2 separate regions of the Homo sapiens genome follow, and region 1 is linked to region 2. Evidence: promoter capture Hi-C in 16 types of primary human blood cells and fetal thymus (Javierre and others, 2016). All regions are on one chromosome and are shown on one strand. Each heading gives the region's core, a stretch centred on a gene start or on the middle of the fragment in contact. The rest is flanking DNA. Distances are from core to core; before and after follow the strand shown.

The links. The method cuts DNA at HindIII sites, captures the fragments that hold promoters and counts their contacts. A CHiCAGO score of 5 or more calls a contact.
Region 1: a contact is called between a fragment that was not itself captured here and the fragment with the promoter of STAP1 in region 2, in 13 of 17 cell types (total B cells, naive B cells, activated CD4 T cells and 10 more). The highest score is 13.6, in total B cells.

Annotation. Positions count from the first base shown.
Region 1 is chr4:67,647,522-67,653,023 of GRCh38, forward strand. UBA6 (ubiquitin like modifier activating enzyme 6) reads right to left here. Exons shown (of 33, transcript NM_018227.6): 14 at 1,547-1,690. Among named protein-coding and RNA genes, the nearest start is that of UBA6, 51 kb to the right of the region's middle. The HindIII fragment of the contact is 2,811 bases long and covers 1,251-4,061 here.
Region 2 is chr4:67,555,233-67,560,354 of GRCh38, forward strand. It overlaps STAP1 (signal transducing adaptor family member 1), which reads left to right and starts at 3,495. Exons shown (of 9, transcript NM_012108.4): 1 at 3,495-3,697. The coding sequence starts at 3,578. The HindIII fragment of the contact is 12,125 bases long and covers 316-5,122 here.

The DNA of each region.
Region 1 (5,502 bases), core at 1,406-3,905, 91 kb after region 2:
TACATACTATGTGTATGTGTATGTCATCTATAATTTCACACACTATAGGAAAATAATCTAGGAAACCAAAATTTCAGCATTTTTAAAAATACCAAAGATAATTAATTTAAGTTAATGAAGAAAAGAACTGAGTCTTAATCTCATTTTCATTTAAGTAACTTGTGTGGCTAAATTTGAACATGAACAAATGGTTATTTATTTTATTATAACACAGAATCTATATTAACAATTAATTTCTATTATTTCTCATGGTGTTTTTTTTTTTTTTTTGAGACAGAGTCTCACTCTGTCGCCCAGGCTGGAGTGCAGTGGCACAATCTCGGCTCACTACAACCTCCGCCTCCCAGGTTCAAGCGATTCTCCTGCCTCAGCCTCCCGAGTAGCTGGGACTACAGGGGCGTGCCACCATGCCCGGCTAATTTTTTGTATTTTTAGTACAGAAGGGGTTTCACCATGTTAGCCAGGATGGTCTTGATCTCCTGACCTCGTGATCTGCCCGCCTCGGCTGCTCAAAGTGCTAGGATTACAGGCATGAGCCACTGCGCCTGCCTTAACGGTCATCTTTAAACCAGATTTTTACTAATGTACTTGTATTCTGTGTTGAAATAAATAATTCAGCAGCAAAAATAGCATTATGTGAGTACCTTTTAAAATATAAAAAAATGAGCCGGGCGCAGTGGCTCACGCCTGTAATCCCAGCACTTTGGGAGGCCGAGGCGGGTGGATCACGAAGTCAGGAGTTTGAGACCAGTCTGGCCAACATAATGAAATCCCATCTCTACTAAAAACACAAAAAGTTAGCCAAGTGTGGTGGTCTGCATCTGTAACCCCAGCTACTTGGGAGGCTGAGGCAGGAGAATCGCGTGAACCCGGCAGACAGAGGTTGCAGTGAGCTAACATCGCGCCATTGCACTCCAGCCTGGGTAACAGTGTGAGACTCTGTCTCAAAAAAAAAAAAAAATTAAAAAAAAAAGATAAATGGTATATTCAAAATGTTTATGGTGTTTCAACAGAGAGAGGGCCTGGAGGCAGTATCCTTTCACACCTTGTGCCAATTATTTCTGCTGGCAAAAGAAATGGGGATTTTTATTCCATCTTGTGATGTTCATACCCCATGTAACTCTAAAACCTGTACCACTCCCATGTTTTCCACTTTTGTAAGTTTATACCTAGAAAGGGAACCTGAACGTTCATGATAGTAAAAGATTCCATGGAACAAATTCAAGAGTCCTGAGAGCCCGAGAATGCTAAGCTTATGGTACTGGAGAACAATTACCTATAAGGATAGAACATTCATTCCCTTACTATCACAACTAAGGGAAATATATTTGAGAAGGCAACTTTGGGTTATATCTCAATAGCCCTAAAATATCATCCTGTTAATTTCAATCATAGAATCAAGTGTTGGAGGCATACTGCTTGCATCTCTTTCATGCATCAAAAAGTATTTTAAGGTCGCTTTTCTAATATATTAATACTACATTATAATATGTAACACATTCCATTTCACGAGTAAAGAATTCAACTTTAAAAACTCAGAACTAACCCACTGGCACAAAGGAGAAAATTTTCCTGTTACAGCTTTCAATACTTCTTGGCTGGCAACACCTCCTACTGCTGCAGCAAGTGGAGATAAAAAGCCTTGGGCAGTCCAAGAGAGCCAATGCACAATGTCAGCATTTACATCAGGCTAAAACAAAAGCCATAAAAGACAATAACATTAACAGCATTTACACAGTACACTTAAAATTCCAATGACTAAATGTGAGAATTAGAACTTAACTTCTAAAAAAGCTATTCAGTTCCCCTACTAAATATCTCTAAAAATGTCCCAATTTCATGATAACAGACCCATTTGCGTGTTACCTTAAGTAGTGTCTCCCTTTACTAGTATCTGCCCATTTTTGTCTTTGGATTCTATATGTCACTCTAGGGCATCATTTATAATTAACTCGAATATCTACCATTTATAGTTTTTGTCAAAGAACAGTTCTGTGATGCCAGTCAGACATATTTACAAATAAACAGATTTTTTTTAATTTAAAAAGTTTGTTAATGAAAACTACTATGAAAAAACCCTGAACTATGATAAAGGAAAATAAAATGATCTTAAAAATGATAAGCTATCAGTTTGTGTTGAAAGTTGTAAATAAAAACTGCAATTAATAATAACACAATACACTTAGAGATAATGTTTTCAATTACACTTAAAAGTTATGTATCTCAAAACAGAACATTTTAAAGGAAATATTGGAAAACTGAATTTTAGATCTATTATTTCAGCAATTTCTTATATGTGACAAAGATCTTTTCACGAGCCCTGTTTTCTTTCTCTTCTTATTCTTTAAACATTAGTAATCTTAATTTTATCACTAAACTTCAAGTTTGCCTAATTAATCTTTTGAAATCCTATGTAAAAGAAGAGTTCTTGTACACAGAGGAGAGGACAGAGAAGAGTTTTTATTACACTCTCAAAAATATTTGTGACACAAAATGGTTACTACTTACTATTCCACCCCTCCATTTCAACTTTCTATATCTCATTATTTACAACTATTGAGCACTAGCCTCAACCAAGATCAATTACAATTTAAATTCTGCAATTTTTGAATGCAGATATTGTTGGTGGTGATAATATTAAAAACAATGATGAGAATGATAATAACAGTATAAGTGGGTACTTACCATGCCAGGTTATCTATTAAGTCCTTACACAACCTTCAAAATAATCCTTATAAATATAATTTCTATTATACAAGTAAGAAAACTGAAACATTGAAAAATTAAGTAACTTATTCAATATTTTATAGCTAGTAAATGGTGAAGCCAGGATCTGGACCGAAAAAGTCCAACTTTATAGGTTTATTCTCAGCATTAGGTTATGCAACCTCCCAGGATTCCTTATTTTTTAGTACACAAACATCTAAATTTTGGGAATTTTTGGTTACCATAGGATAAAGACGGCAGCCTATAGCTAAATTTCCCCAAATAATCTCCAAAACATATGCATAATCACAAGAAGAGAAATAAAACAGTGACAGGGCTTCAGTATTACTAGAAAACAGAATATTATAAATTTCAAATTACTTGTAAGTAGAAAGACAGATTGCAAACTCCATCAGCACTCTCTCTGGATTTCACATTGTTACAATCTCGGACAGAGAGCAGAAAATACGAAGAGATCACAGAAGAGAGTGAAAGGCCTTATGGTAACAAAACACAGTCCTAAGAAAAAGAAAGACCCACACTAAGTGCAGAAAATATTGATGAGAGGTATAAAACTGGTGGCAGATATCAGCTGTCAAAGAATGTCATCCTGGGAGAGAAAGATGTAAACAAAAGAGGGGAGACATTCTTTGAGAGAGAAAGCTAAAGAGAGAGATGTTAAGAGTTTGGTAAAAATCAAAGAGACCTACAAAACACACCAATACCTCTCCACCACAAAAAGGTCATCCATTAGAAGCTCCTTTTCAGTATCCTAAGAGAAGAGAATACTACAAAAGTAGGAATCTAAAAAGCACCTAAAACCCTTATCCTGTCCAAAAAGTAAGCACAAAAAGCATTCTACTTTACAAAGCTAATGTAAGAAGAAAACAGAAAACCAGAATCAAAACATTTCAGCTACTGAAAATCCACACCCCCACAACTAACCAAAAGTCAGAGGATATTTAAGTGAATTACATATTCTTAACAAGCACTTGGCAACGTAGGGGAAAAAAACAACACAAAAAACCTTGAATCAGGAATTTAAAAACTAAGAACAGAAATGATCCATTCTACCCTTCCAGAAAAGAAAAGAAATACTTAAACAACATTTGACTCTGCATATCAAAATGGGCTTATGGTGTACGTAAGAAACTTTACTGAATAATCAACTCTGAGATATAACCTGGTAAAACTATTAGATGAAGACAAAGATTAAACACATAGGGCCTTAAAGCAAAAAGACCAGATTACTTCTAACAGTATGAAAATTCGGCTGCCATCTGATTTTTCAACAGTAAAATATAAAGCAAGATACCAGTGAACAAAGTAAGAGCCCAGAATTTTACATCTAGCCAAGCTTACAAGTATGAAAACTACAGAAAAAATATGAAACATATAAAAACTCAGGGAATACCATAATTCTGAGCTCTTTTTGAGAAACAGACTAAACCTGACTTCAAGACTTAATATAAAAGCCACAATAAGCAAGACAGGATGGAGCTGGCAAAAGGACAGAAACAACATGAAGACAATAGAGTACAGAAATAGACCTACATATATATGGTTAAAAAAAACTGTTGACAAAAATGCCATGACATTTCAATAAAGAATAGCCTTTTCAACAAATGGGCTAGAATAGCTGGACATTCATACACAAAAAAATTAACTTTCATCTATACTTTGTGCAGTATATAAAGACAAACTCATAAAACTACAAAAGAGTGCATAAAATTAGTGTAAAGTCATGTACACTGATCTGTACTTTGTATGATCATGTCTTTATCAATACTTTGCACCATATGCAAAAATGAACTTATAAAATTACAAAAATATGAATTGTCTAGAAGAAAACAGCTTTTTGACCCTGTGTTAAAAAAGCTCTTAAGACAAAAAAGCACAAACCACAAAAAGTATTCTTTTTGTGATTTGATAAATTGAATTTCAGAGACTATTGTAAAACACGTATCTGATAAAGAACTCATATCCAAATATATAAAGACATATAAAAACCCTCTCAACCAATAATTAAAAGCTATTTTAAAAACAGGCAAAGATTTCAAAAGACAGTTTATTAAAGAAGACATATGAATGGCAAATAAGCATATTAAAAGATATTCAAATTCATGGCCAGTGATATGAAAATGAAAACCAAAATGAGATACTACCACACACATAAAAATGTTTAAAATCATATAAACAGACAACACAGAGTGTAAGGAAGATGCAGCACAACTGAAATTCTCATACACTTCTGGTGAGAATACAAAACGGTACAGCTACTTTGCAAAACAGTTTGGCAGTTTCTTATAAAATTAAACATGGTCTTGGTCCTCCCAGATGGCCGAATAGGAACAGCTCGTCTGCAGCTCCCAGCGAGATCGATGCAGAAGACAGGTGATTTCAGCATTTCCAACTGAGGTATCTGGTTCATCCCACTGGAACTGGTTGGACAGTGGGTGCAGCCCATGGAGGGCGAGCCGAAGCAGGGCGGTATGTCACCTCACCCAGGAAGCACAAGGGGTCAGGGGATTTCCCTTTCCTAGCCAAGGGAAGCCATGACAGACTATCCTTGGAAAAACGGTACACTTCCGCCCAAATACTGCACTTTCCTCACCATCTTAGCAACCGGCAGACCAGGAGATTCTCTCCTGTGCCTGGCTTGGTGGATCCCACGCCCATGGAGCCTTGCTCACTGCTAGCGCAGCAGTCTGAGATCCACCTGCGAGGCTGCAGCCTGGCGGGCATACAGGTGTCCGCCATTGCTGAGGCTTGAGTAGGTAAACAAAGCAGCTGGTA
Region 2 (5,122 bases), core at 2,245-4,744:
CAAGAATCATATGTCAACCAATGGTCACATATATCAGAAAAAAGGAAACTCCTGTCACAATGGAAGCTAATAATTCTCCAAACTAGAATCATATTTTTTAGCTAGAAGCTATTCAGTAAATATATGATATTGCAATCTACTTATAACCAACCCCTACTTCAACACAATCTTTCCTTTGGAAAAACTGTTTCTTGTTGATACTCAATGTATACAAATAACTACAACAGGACAAATACTATAAGAAAGAAATCGTGCAAAGTGCTTTGGGAAAGCAGAAATGAGAGTAATAACTTTTTTTTTTGTGGGGGTGAAGAAAGCTTCAGGAAATTAGGAGATGTTCAGAATTAAGGATAGATTCAGCCTGGGTCTTGAAGGACGAGTAGGACATTACCATATAAACAAAGAGAAGGAGGGGCATCTAAGCAGAGTACAGTGACTGAAAAGGTATGAGGAGACAGGGAAGATCATAGGGTATTCAGGCAACTGAGACTAAATGAAATTACCAGAGCAAAGGGTATTTTGAGGAGTTATTATTTAAAAGGGGCCCTGCTATAAAGGACCAACGTGCCATGCTTGAGCCCATTGTTGGTATTCAATAAGTATTTAGTGTTCAATAAAAAATATTTAAAAAGGAATCTCAAAAGCAATGAGAATCCTTTAAAGTCTTTTCAGTAGGGGAATATCTTGATTAGGTTGAATATTAAATGAATCAAAGAAGAAAAAGAGTGGAAACTAGGAGACTACTTAAAAGCCTTTTGCAGCTCTTCAAACAATAAGTCATGTAGTCCATCGCCTCCTTGTATAGGTGAGGAAGCTATGATACCAGAGAAGTCAAGTGGTTTGTTCAAGGTCTCAAGAGCTGGTTAGTAGCAAAATTAGTTTATGCCCTATGTCCAAACATATTTTCTACTATATTTCCTTACCTACAAATTTATTCTTCACTGCCTAAGACTTGAGGTATCTGTAAGAGGATTTCCATTGTAATGGTGCAGTGGTGCAATGACACTAGTCATTGCAGACAGGACTAACTTGTTAATATTGTTTAAGCAAGATTTTTGCATTTTGTAGTCTTTTTCAGGGAGATATAATTTGATTCTTGGTATATTAAGAATGAATTTGACGAACAAATCAGCAGACCAAAGTAACTTACTGTGTCTGATTAGCTGTTTTTAAATTGTTGCTTATATTTTAAAGGCAAAAAAAAAACTAAGTGCTTATTTAACAACAACAAAAAATCCCCTTTACATTTTTTTAGAGGTATTATTTTCTCTCACCTATGAAACTTTCTGACCATAAAGTCAGTGCGTAATCACTGATGATTCCCAGCATTCTTTCTTTATCCTTGCTTCTTTTCATTTTTCAATTCTTAATCCCTCCTTTCACTTCCCCCCTGTATTACAACAACTAACAGCTGCCAAGAAAGTGGATTAGGTCATATATTCAATCAGGAGGTTTTCCTGTTATTCAAGTCACTTTCTTAGTATACCGAAACTAAAAAATAGTTATGGTTTTTGCCTCAAAAAATTCAGTTGGACTTATATTTTATTATTTGAAGGTTGGGTAGCAAGAAGCAGGTCTAAACTTACAAAAGCAAAGCAGTCATTTTGGATCTTCAACTCCCTATTTCTGTCTTGAGCTGTTTTCATTTTGATAATACATCTGAACACTCTTCTCTAACTTACTGATAATCAGTCCGTATTGTTCTACCTCACTTTGTAGACAATTTGTCATCCCATATCTACAGCTGCAGGATCAGTGGGACCCATACTGGTGGAGAAAACCATGCAGTCTCTCCATTAGGAAAGGAGAATCAGACTGAAGACTCCTGACTTGCTTTGATTTCTAATAATAGGCTGGTCTCACTGGGCCCAGGCTGTTCTAAATCTAGAGTAGTTCTGAAATACTGAGTGTGAAATAGGCAATGGTAGAAATTCTTAGGACCCCTGTAAGACAAATCAAAATTCCTTCTAGTATTCTTTTCTCCCATCATTTCCTGCACTGTGCTACGCCAAATCCAATCTCTTAAGGACCATTTCCTACATGCAACCATTGAGTGCACTTTGGCCCCAGTATAGCTTTATAAATCTCACTAGATAACTGTGGGAAGTCCATCCATGAATCATAGTATCAATGGTCTGCAGCTCAGAAAGCACAAAAGAACAAAATAAAAGTTTGAAAACTTACAGCTTTCTCTGCCAGATATTTTTTTGCCAAATATCTTAGACTCCTTTGTGTTGCTGTAACAGAATGCCACAGACTGGTAATTTATAATGAACAGAAATGTATTTCGCTCATGGTTCTGGAGTCTGGAAGTCAAAGAACATGGCCAGCATCTGATGAGGACCTTCATGCAGCATCATTCCATGGCAGAAGATAGAAGAGCAAGAGAGGATGATAGCATGTGAGAAAGTGCCAAACTTGATTTTATAAAAAACCCACTTCCAGGCCAGGTGCAATGGCTCACACATGTAATCCCAGCACTTTGGGAGGCCACAGCAGGAGAATCGCTTGAGCCCAAGAGTTTGAGACCAACCTGGGCAACATAGGGAGATACTGTCTATACAAAAAATGAAAAAGTTAGCTAGGAGTGGTGGCGCGTGCCTTGTAGTCCCAGCTACTTAGGAGGCTGATGTGTGAGGATTGTTTGAGCCTGAGAGGTCAAGGCTGCAGTGAGCTGTGATTGCACCAGTGTATTCCAGCCTGGGCAACAGAGCAAGACCCTGCCTCTGAAAAAAGAGAAAGAAACCCACTCCCACAGCATTAATTAATTCATTCATTCATGAGGGCAGAGGCCTCATGACTTAATCACCTTCTAAAAGTCCCATTTCTAAACACTGTTGCATTGGGGATTAAGTTTCTAACACATAAGTTTTGGAGGACACATTCAAAACATAGCACTAAATATTCATTGGGAACTCATGTACTTGGAATATCTACTGGCAAAAAAAAAAAAAAAAGAAAGAAAGAAAAAAGAAAAAAATTCCATATTCCGTGTTCCCATAATTGTGGTTTATATTTAGTGAAGCATCAAATGAGCATGAGATACAACTATTTTTTTTATTTACACAAAACTTGACCCTAAAATATTTAACCAACAGAAGTAGTACTAATAAAATTATTCTATGAAGTAATTTTTAATGAAGCTGAGTTTATTCAAGTCATGTCTTCTGCAAATAAAAATGGACACCAATAAACAAAAACAAAGATAGAAAGAATAACTGTGTTCTTGATATCTCCCCTAAAGTTCACAATCTCTACACCTGTTTCTTTCATCTTCTGGTGATGTTAATCTTCTGTTTATTTTGCGCTTTAAATCTAAGCACATGTGGATTACCCAGAGATTGCCCTCTGAAAGTCAGTCTACACCTGTTCTTTCTTACCTCACAAAAAGTAATGGAAAAAAAAGTGTGTGTGTGTGTGTGTGCGTCTGTGTGTGTGTGTGTCCTGTTGGTGGTAGTGTTGGTGGTTAAAAAGCAATTTGGGACTTCCTCTTTGAACAGTTGCCTTTTCCTCTCACAGAAGGAAGATTTCATTTTGTTTGAGACGAGAAACCAAACCACACACCAAAGAGAGGGGTATGATGGCTAAGAAGCCCCCAAAACCAGCCCCTCGCAGGATCTTCCAGGAAAGGTTAAAGATTACTGCTCTACCTTTGTACTTTGAAGGTTTTTTATTAATCAAGCGGTCAGGATACCGGGTGAGTCTATAGATGATAATGTTAAACCTAAGACTTCTGTTTTAATTTAATATTTATTTCATGGTGATGTGATGTGTTAAGACCTCCTTGTTTCTGTTGAAATTAAATCATCTTCTCTTCTTTGAGCTCAGAAAAATGATTCCAATTTTTCATAATTTAAATACAATGTCTGGCTTAAACCTGTATGTATACACATATATAATATGTATAATAACAGAGGTTGTAATATTAAGGCACTAATATAAAAAAGTCAATAAGCTAAATTTCCAAAGAATTTATTTAAATATCACAAAAGATTTTGGCTTGGGAGATAAAATGTTTCTTGTATTTTCTCCACAATTTATTGCTATGCTTCAATGATGACATGTACCATTAAGATAAAATGATATCATGATTAAAATTAAACCTGCTCCTGTTCTGAGTCATTTGAAGTTTATAATGATCAAATTATTAAAAATGGCTTTTGTAAAAATTGTTAAAATGACAAAGTTCATACTGTTTAACATTATATATAGTTATGTGTTCTAAAATACTATTCAAGATAGTGACTTTTAATTTTTGGGGTACTACTGTGGGTATTAAGTACACTAAGCTACATAAATACCTTTGCTCTAAGAAAATCCATGAAGCATTCTGTATTTTTAAATGTAATAATTAAAACTTATAGTTAGTTAAAATCATTACTTTTAAAACAGTAATTATGGATGACTTGAAATTAATTAGAGAAATAAGCCCAAAATTGCCTGTTATTAAATAAAAAAATCATTAAGTTAGGTCAAATTTTATGAAATTGTATACTGACTAAAACTAGAAAAATTTTAAGGTTTTCAGAAATTCCATCAGAAATGTTTAATGATGCTAAAATATATTTTCTGAGGATTTATGAATACTTGTGGAAAAATTATATATATGAAAAATCTATAATAGCATATTCACATTTCTTACATATATAATCAGATCATTTACTATTTGAGAGTAAAGACATGGTAATTTGTATTCTGTTATGGATGTTAAACATGCATAAATAATTACCTTTCAGTTATATTAGAATTTTTTAGATTGATCCTATATGCTTTTAATGTAAATTCAATCTTGTCACCACAGGTAAGCCACATAGTCACACTTTGCCAGGAAAGGGAAGTTGAGAAAAAAAAATTCTAATTAGTAATTTAAATCAGGTTGTTCATTGAATGTTTTCCAAGGTATTTATAATAACTGTTTATGATAGCAGTTTTTTTTAAATGCTTAAAGAAGACATGTCATTGGTATGGTTAGCAGAAAGAATAAGAATTTTAGAGTGTCCTTTATCTGATGGTTTTGCCACTTATAGCTTGTGATCTTGTGCAAGTTACTCAATCTCCTTGAGACTGTTTCAACTATAAGATAGAGAGTATACTACTTGCTACTTGCCTCCTAAGGTACATT